3 separate regions of the Homo sapiens genome follow, and regions 1 and 2 are each linked to region 3. Evidence: promoter capture Hi-C in human tissues and cell types (Jung and others, 2019). All regions are on one chromosome and are shown on one strand. The core of a region is centred on a gene start or on the middle of the fragment in contact, and the rest is flanking DNA. Distances in the headings are between cores, read along the strand shown.

Region 1 (2,700 bases), core at 1-2,500, 540 kb before region 3:
CCACCTCCCAAGCTAAAGCAATCCTCCTACCTCAGCCTCTCAAGTAGCTGGGACTACTCTTGGTACAATATAGATACTATTTCACATCTCAAGAAATTGTTTTACAAACATATTGTTTTCCCAGTTATCTTGTTTATGATCAGCGCCTCAAGAGTCAGGTCAACAGAAATTTTCCAAACTGAAGCACAAAATGAAAAAAAAAATAAGAATAGAGCATGAGACATGTCAAACAGCAGCAAAAATTCTAACTTATGTTTACATGGAGACCCCAAAAAAGAAGACAGAAGATGAGGCAGAAAAAAATAAATGAAGAGATAATGGTGGAGATTTTTCCAAAATTAAAAAAAAAAAACCATCAAGGCCAAGGTGGGCAGATCACCTGAGATCAGAAGTTTGAGACCAGCCTGGCCAAGATGGTGAAACCCCGTCTCTACTAAAAATACAAAAAATTAGCCGGGCGTGGTGGTGGTCACCTGTAGTCCCAGCTACTCGGGAGGCTGAGGCAGGAGAATGGTGTGAACCCAGGAGGCGGAGCTTGCAGTGAGCCGAGATCGCATCACTGCACTCCAGCCTGGGCGACAGAGCGAGACTCCGTCTCAAAAAAAAAAAAAAAAAAAAATGTAGGCAAAACACATTTCATAGTTTGACACAGCAGACTCACACTAGTAAATATAAACATAAAGTTGTCAGGTTGAAGGGAAATGATCCTACATGAAAACACAGAATGCAAGAAAAAGGGAAAGACCTCAAAAAAGGCAAATAATATGTGGGGAAACATAAAAAAGACTATTTATTTTACTTCATAAAAAAAGACTCGATAGCGTAAAGCAATAATGATAATTTATTGTGGCGTTTACAACATATGTAAAATTAAAATGTTACATCAACAGTACAAAAATATGGACGCTGGTAAATGAAACTAACTTCTAAGATCTTTACCTTATGAAGTAGTTAAAAAAAAGACTGAAATTGAATTAGGATGCATACTGCAATTTCTTGGGAAAACACTAAAACAATATAAAAAGATACAGCTAACAAGCTATTAAAGGAGGTAATATGGAATTATAGAAAATCCTTTATTTATCCACAAGAGGGCAGGAATGGAGACATGCAGGAAAAAGAAATGTGACAAACATAAAACAAACAGCAAAATGTTACACTTCATCACATTCGTCATAACATGAAGTGTTAATAGACTAAATACTCCAATTAAGAGGCAGAAATTGTGTTTAACAGAGAAACAAAAAAACAGACCTAAGAGCTAGACCCAACTAGCTCTTTACGAGAAAAACGCTTTAAATATAAGGACTTAAGTTGAGGGAAAAAAAATACACACACACACACACACAAACACACACACACACACACTTTATGTAAGCACTAATGATAAAAAAAAAAAGCTGGTACAGCTATATTAGCATTAAAAAAAAGGTACACGCAAGAAAAGAAGTATTTATTAACAGGTAAAAAGACAGATGTTTTATAAAAAATAAGGTCAATTAATCTAGAAAACAAAACCTATACTAAATATATACACCCAATAACAGGGACTCAAAATATACAAAGCAAAAAGTGATAGAACCAAAAGGAAAAATAGATATATCTACAATCATAGTGGAGAATTTTTAGTAACTGATAGAAGATGGCAAAAAAAATCAGAAAAGATATAGAGATTTCAACAATACTAATAACACATTTGATCTTCATGACATTTATAGAATGCTACACTCAACAACTGCAGAATACATAGTCTTTGCAAGTACTCATGGAACACTCACCAACATATTCCATATGATTAGAACATAAAGCAAGCCTGAATAAATTTCAAAAGACTGAAATTATAGAGGATGTTATGTTCTCTAACCAATGTAATCAAAGCAAAATTAAATAAGAAAAAGTAAAATTTCCAATATGTTTAGAAATTGGTCAACATACTTTCAAATAGCCCAGAAAACTTCTAATTTCCATTGAATATATTAGAAAATATTTTGAAGAATGAAAATGCATTTAAATATGTGAGGTACAGCTACAGCAGTGATTAGAGGAAAGTCATAGCTTTAAAGACTATTAAAGAAAGGTTTAAAATCAATTATCTAAGCTTCCCTCTCAGATGTTATAAAAATTAACCCAAATACAACAGAATGAAATAAAGACAAAAGCAGAAATCAATGAAATAGAAAAACAGAGAAATCAACACAGATAAAATTGGTTCTTTATAAAAATAAAATTGATAAAACCCTAAGAAAAGATTGATCAAGTGTGAAAAAAAGAGATAAAACACAAATTACCATTATAAGACATCTCTTCTATAATGGAGGGTGGTATTAACAGGATGAACACAAGTATTACTGAAATACTACCATGACCAGTCAGCAAAATTGAAATAACAAAATACCATTTCTAACCCATGAGACTGACCAAAACTTAAAAGTCTGATACTGTCAAGTGTTAGTAAGCACTATTGTGGGCTACTGACAGACCTGTGAACTCGTAAAGTCATTGTGGGGAACAACTGATCATTATCCAGTAAAACTGAAACTTGCAATCCCTTGCACCCTGCAATGCCATTACTGGAGCACAGAGGCATGGAGACGGATGGTCACTACAGCATTGTTTGAAATAGAAAAAACTAGAAACAATTTAAGTGTCCAACAAAAAGGGAATAAGTAAAATGGGGTATATGCCTACTGTGTAGCAGTG
Region 2 (2,780 bases), core at 281-2,780, 530 kb before region 3:
GGAAGGCTAAGGCAAGTGGATCGCTTGAGGCCAGGAGTTCGAGCAGCCTGGCCAACATGGTGAAACCCCATCTCTACTAAAATTACAAAAATTAGCCAGGCGTGGCGGTGCATGTCTGTAATCCCAGCTACTCAGGAGATGAGTTACAAGAATCACTTGAACCCTAGAGAAGGAGGCTGCAGTGAGCTGAGATTGCACCACTGCACTCCAGTCTGGACAATAGAGCAAGACTCTGTTTCAAAAACAAAAACAAGCAGAGTCCAAGCACCTCCTTGAGTCAGAGCAGGGCATTTCCTCCTGCTCCGATCCACGACAGCAGCATTTCATGTGGTTGGGACTTGGACTCTGGAGGCAGGCCCAGGTTCAAATCCTGGCTTTGACACTGAGTGATACAACCTGAGCCTCAGTTTCCCCCATCATGATGGAGAAACATGCGTTTCCTATGCAGGCTGAGGCTCCGAAGGCTGCTAAGCTCCTTTCCCTGCTAAGGGGAGGTCCTCATTTATGCCATTGCCCAGGTTTCCTTTGCATGTGACTTATCACACGGTGCTCTGGAGCCCTGTCCTTGGAGACTCACACCCCTGTGACCAGGATGGGGTCAGGGCTGTGCTTAATCAGGTGACTGTCCAAGGAGCCCCCTTCCACCTCCAGAGTTCAGAACTCAGTGTCTTACCTTCCTCCCAGGAACCAGAGCACACTGAACACGCAGGGCCTGGCAGGGCACCTGACGGCCAACATGTTGGGGGGCATTGGAGCACACAAATCAACACTCCAGGGGCAGGAGTGGTTGTCACTTGAGTTGCAAAATCTAGGGACCCTAAAAGAGTCCCTGTGAGGCCTGGCTCCTTGGTGTGCTGAGCAACTGACCCATCCCCCACACTCTCCTACCCAAAGAGGCCTCTGGAGCCTTCCTACGGCCAAGGGACCTGGCCAGCCGCACAGGCTGAGGACAGAGCGAGCTCGGCCAGGGCTCCGTGAACAGCTGTCCTTCTGTGGCCATCATCACAGCAGCAGCAAGTTCAGGGTGGGGCATCAGCACGGGGTGTGCGCTCTCTCATCCTGGGCATCTGAGTTTTTCGTTTTAAAAGTTGTGATCACCAAGACGCTGTCCTTGTCTGCCTCTGCATCTCATGGTCCCCGCTGTGGGGAGGCGCGCAGCCAAGTGGGCCTCGCCTGGGGAAGGGAGGTGCATGCATGCGACTCAGGCAAACACGGCCCCTGGGCCTCGTTCCAGGGAGCCCCAAAGGCAGAGTTCAGAAGATTGCAATTAATTTTCTAAATTAATACACAATAACAGATAATTAATTTTAAATGTTGAACTTAATGTTAGTACATATGTTACAGGAATTACATCAAATTATTTGATTTTATTATGGAGTCTGTCTTAAGTTTTAATTCCAAAAATAGTTTATTCCTCCTATGATTTAAATTTTATTTACATTAGCACTCAATAGAACTACTAGATGCTAAATATACCTGTGGATGTATTCCAGTTACACTAAAAATTGAAATATAGTGCCAGGTTATTCACAGTGTTTTTAACTTGAAGTTTGTTTTTCAAAAGCAAAAGAGGTTATTGTTCTGCAGTAGCAAAACTGCTAGGGATTGAGCTTCCAGATTTTTTAAAATTATATTTATATATTTAGACGGAGTTTCATTCTTGTTGCCCAGGCTGGAGTGCAATGGTGCAGTCTCAGCTCACTGCAACCTCTGCCTCCTGGGTTCAAGCAATTCTCCTGCCTTAGCCTCTCCAGCAGCTGGGATTACAGGCACCTGGCTAATTTTTTTTGTATTTTTAGTAGAGATGGGGTTTTACCGTGTTGGCCAGGCTGGTCTTGAACTCCTAACCTCAGGTGATCTGCCCACCTCGGCCTCCCAAAGTGCTAGGATTACAGGCGTGAGCCACTGTGCCCAACCGAGCGTCCAGATTTTAGGTTCTCAGCTTTCCTCTTCTCTCATACGTTTGGTATGTTCTTTATTTAAATCTCTAAAATAAAACAACTCATTTCCACCTCCTGGGTCGTTGCTGTCGAGGTGGTTCAATTCCACGCAGGCATTTTTACAGTCAAGGCGTGAGCATCCTCACTTGTTAAGTAGAGTTTGTTTGTTTGTTTTTCTTTGTTTTTTTGAGACAGAATCTCTGTGACCCAGGCTGGAGTGCAGTAGCAGGATCTCTGCTCACTGCAACCTCCATATCCCGAGTTCAAGGGATCCTCCTGCCTCAGCCTCCCAAGTAGCTGGGACTACAAGCATGCGCCACCACACCTGGCTAATTTTTGTATTTTTAGTAGAGACAGGGTTTCACAATGTTGCCCAGGCTGGTCTCAAACTCCTGACCTCAAGTGATCCGCCCGCCTCAGCCTTCCAAAGTGCTGGGATTACAGATGTGAGTTAAGCAGTTTGAACAATCGATTGATTAGACTTTTGTGGCTGCTCATTTGGGCATGTGGCCGAGTACTGTGCTGTCCTGGCCCACAGCGTCCTACAGGAAGGGACGGGCTGTAAGACGTGGGATCTTCTGAAGTCGTCAAATGAAAAACACTCCTGTTGAGTGAAAAAACAAATAGGCTAATCCTATGATTTTTTAAACATTTAAACCTGACATGATTTTATTGCAAATTTCCAAGAATCCTTAAAAGTTATAAAAAGCATAATCAAAATAAATATCTGTGACAGAGTTCTACAAAAGGGAAAACTCAGTTTTCCTTTTGAGATCTTGCCCCAGCATCAGTTCAAACACTTCCTCTTATATTTCACCAAGACTCAGTTCCTGAGCAAGA
Region 3 (3,184 bases), core at 651-3,150:
CAGTGATCAAACAGCCCAAATAGCCTTGTACTGCACAAAAACCAAAGACATGCAGAACAAACCCCCCAACAAGGCATCATTCCTTATCTATGAAATGAGAAAAAAAAAAAAAAAAAAAAAAAGACAGTGCTGCTATCCATTGTGGAGACAGGTTCCCCGCCACTTCTGGGATGGGCATCTGACGTTTCTGACCTCTGGACCCAGATGCCGCCCTTCTAAGAGCAGGCGCCCTGTGAGCTGGGATTCCCACCACCCCTGCCCATTACAGCCTCCACTGCAGGCCAGGAAGGGCCGCTGGGCGGGGCTGGGTGTTTGGATCCTGGGCGGACCTGGGCAGCCCCGTCCCAGCCAGTGCCCCGCGGGCTGGGTAGGGCCCCTTCCATGAGCAGCACCAGGACCCCTGCTTGTGGCGGGTGAGCCCCGCATCAGGCGCCCGACTTTGCATAAACGTGAAATAGGCCACAGGAGGCAGCAACTCAACGTGCAGGGCCGTGTTTAAGAGAAAGCATCTCACCGGGCCTTTCTTTCCTTTTTTTTTTTTTTTTTTTTTTTTTTTGAGACAGTCTCGCTCCCTCACCCAGGCTGGAGTGCAGTGGCGCGATCTCAGCTCACTGCAGCCTCCGCCTCCCAGGTTCAAGTGATTTTCTCCTGCCTCAGCCTCCCGATTAGCTGGGATTACAGGTGCCTGCCACCACGCCCGGCTAATTTTTTTTTGTATTTTTAGTAGAGACGGGGTTTCACCCTGTTGGCCAGGCTGGTCTCGAACTCCTGACCTCAGGTGATCTGCCCGCCTCGGCCTCCCCAAGTGTTGGGATTACAGGCGTGAGCCACCGTGCCCGGTCTGGCCTTTCTTGAAATAATCACCAGAGTCGAAGTGCAAGGGGGCCTCCAAGCCAGAGCTGTGTTATCCCAAGAACAAGGAGCTCCGCGGATCGCAGGCCCCTCCTTTCTGGGTTCCGACCCCAAAGGGAAGGTCCCTTCTCCAGGGGCGTCCTAGGCGCGGGCACCGGGGTTCTGCTGGCACAGCCCGGATGGGCGCCGCTCGCCCGCACACCTGCGGCTCCACAGAGGGCCGATCCGTTCGGTTGCCAGCAGTGGAGACCCAGGCCCAGCGGTTCCACCAGCGCCCCGGCGGAGTCCCAGGGCGGGTGTGGGCGGCCCGGCAGGGGCTGCGGGTCGCTGTCAGCCCGGGTCCCGCCGCCCTGGGGAGCCGCCTCCGTCTGCAGCTTCTCCTGGGCCTGGCGGGGCCCTGGTGGGCTCCAGGCCGGGAGGGGCGCAGCGATGGGGCGTCGGGGCCACCCGCGTCCCCTCCCCGCCCAGTCCCGCCCTCGGGCACCGAAAGCCCCTCCTCCCCCCGCCCCGCCGCCCCTTCCGTCCGGCCCGGGGAGAGGCCCTGCGCCCCCGGAGGTCCCAGCCAGCCGGGGCGTCTTCCCCGCGGGCCGGAGCCGGACCCGAACCGCTCGCAGACGCGGGGCCTGGCGGGGCGTGCGGTGCCGGGGTCGTCTCGGGAGCGGGGGTCCCAGCACCGAGCTCGGGCGCAGACAGGGACCCCCCCACCCCGCCCAGGCCGGCTCCGCCCCAGAGGAGGCCGCGGGGAGGTGGCCCCAAGTCGCGCGCCCGAGGGTCGGACCCAGAGACGCGGAGCCACAGGGGCAGGCGCGGCCCCAGCCCCGCGAGGAGGAGCCCCGAACCCGCCGAGCCCCCCGCCGTCCCTGGGGCTGGAGTCCCCCTTCCCGGGGACCCGAGGGACGGAGCCGCCGCCGCCGCCTTCCCAGGACTCGGGGTCACCCCCCGCGGGCCGAGCGGCTTCCAGGGTGCGGGGTCCGGGAGGCGCTCACCTGGTCCCGAGGAGGCTCCGCTCCCGACGGCCCGAGGCGCGGGCGCCGAGTAAGCAGCAGGGAGGGAACCGCGGCCGGCGCCGCCCCCTTTATACCCCGCCCCGCCGGCCTGACCCGCCCCGCCGCCAGGAAGCGCTGCGGCCCCGCGGATGGGAGGAGGGGGCCGGGGGCACGGGAGGGGGATGGGAGGGAAGCGGGGACCCTCGAGGGCGGGAGGCTGGAGGAGGTGGAGAGGGTGGGGACCCCCCTGCAGCCCGGGCCGAGCTCCCCCGCCAGCCCCTGCCCGCTGCTGCTCGGACTTCGCGTCCCGGGCCCGGCCGCCCGTCGCCCCCGCCCCATTTCCCGGACGACCTGGCTGGGGCTGTGTCCGCCTCCGGGGCCCTGGGTGTTGGGGACCGCGCCCCGCACGCAGGGCCGACGGGGGCCCTGGGACTCGCCCCTTGGTAGCAGCTGCCCTGGGGGGTGCAGGGTTCCCCCCATCAGCCCCCCGACCCCTCCCCTACCCCGTGTCCTGTGTCCGGCTTGCTCAGGCCTCCCGCGAGAGGCCCCGGGTCAGGAGCTCCTGCAGAAACTGCCGCTCCTGGGGCCTGAGGGTGGGGAGCCGGGAGGGCAGGGACAGCAGAGCCTGGGCGCGGAGGTTGGGGCAGAGCCTGGGCATGCGGCGAGCCACCCCTGCCACCCCTTTCCCGCTGGAAACCACAGGTGGGCTTGGTGCTGGGCCCTGGGACCACCGTGAGGTCCCCACCTGAGCCCAGCCGGGGACAGAGTGACAGGGGTCCCTGGTAGGGCTCTGTCTGGGGTCCCCACTCCCCACCCTGGTCACAGTCCCCCAGCCAGGGCCGGGGTTCCTCCTTGAGGTGAGGCGCAGCCGGGTTGGGGAGAGGTCCCTGGGCTCCGGGACAGGGCTCCCTTCAGAGCTGTCCTGGAAGGTGGCGGAGCGGCTGGGGGCGAGGTCCCTCTTCTGATGAGCAGGTTTGCAAATGTGGTGTGTGTGTGTGTCTGAGACTGAGTGTGTGTGGTGTGTGCATCTGAGTGTGTGGTGTGTGTCTGTGTCTGAGACTGAGTTTGAGTCTGTGGTGTGTGTATCTGTGTGTGGTGTGTGTCTGTGTCTGAGACTGTGTGCATCTGTGAGTGTGTGGTGTGTGTCTGCGTCTGAGGTTGAGTGTGAATGTGTGTGTCTAAGTGTGCCTGAGTGTGAGTGTATGTGCCTAAGTGTGCCTGAGTGTGGCAGCCACATGGTAGCCATGAGTCCAGGGCTCCTGCCTGCTGCTCCTGAGCACAGCTGACGGCGGGCACCGTGTGCCACTCCCCTGGGTCCATGCCGAACTCTCACCTGGGCAATGCCT

The links. Contacts are between HindIII fragments. The study calls those that stand out against the background at their distance.
Region 1: a contact is called between a fragment that was not itself captured here and the fragment with the promoter of COL6A2 in region 3, in 1 of the 25 tissues and cell types used here (lymphoblastoid cells).
Region 2: a contact is called between a fragment that was not itself captured here and the fragment with the promoter of COL6A2 in region 3, in 1 of the 25 tissues and cell types used here (lymphoblastoid cells).

Annotation. Positions count from the first base shown.
Region 1 is chr21:46,638,358-46,641,057 of GRCh38, reverse strand. The region is part of intron 3 of PRMT2 (protein arginine methyltransferase 2); the gene reads right to left. Among named protein-coding and RNA genes, the nearest start is that of PRMT2, 4.0 kb to the right of the region's middle. The HindIII fragment of the contact is 4,299 bases long and covers 1-2,700 here.
Region 2 is chr21:46,622,527-46,625,306 of GRCh38, reverse strand. No RefSeq gene overlaps it. Among named protein-coding and RNA genes, the nearest start is that of PRMT2, 12 kb to the left of the region's middle. RefSeq lists an enhancer at 420-920. The HindIII fragment of the contact is 7,233 bases long and covers 1-2,780 here.
Region 3 is chr21:46,096,828-46,100,011 of GRCh38, reverse strand. It overlaps COL6A2 (collagen type VI alpha 2 chain), which reads right to left and starts at 1,900. Exons shown (of 28, transcript NM_001849.4): 1 at 1,839-1,900. It overlaps COL6A2-DT (COL6A2 divergent transcript), which reads left to right and starts at 2,367. Exons shown (of 2, transcript NR_186433.1): 1 at 2,367-2,540. RefSeq lists an enhancer at 1,783-2,077. The HindIII fragment of the contact is 26,496 bases long and covers 1-3,184 here.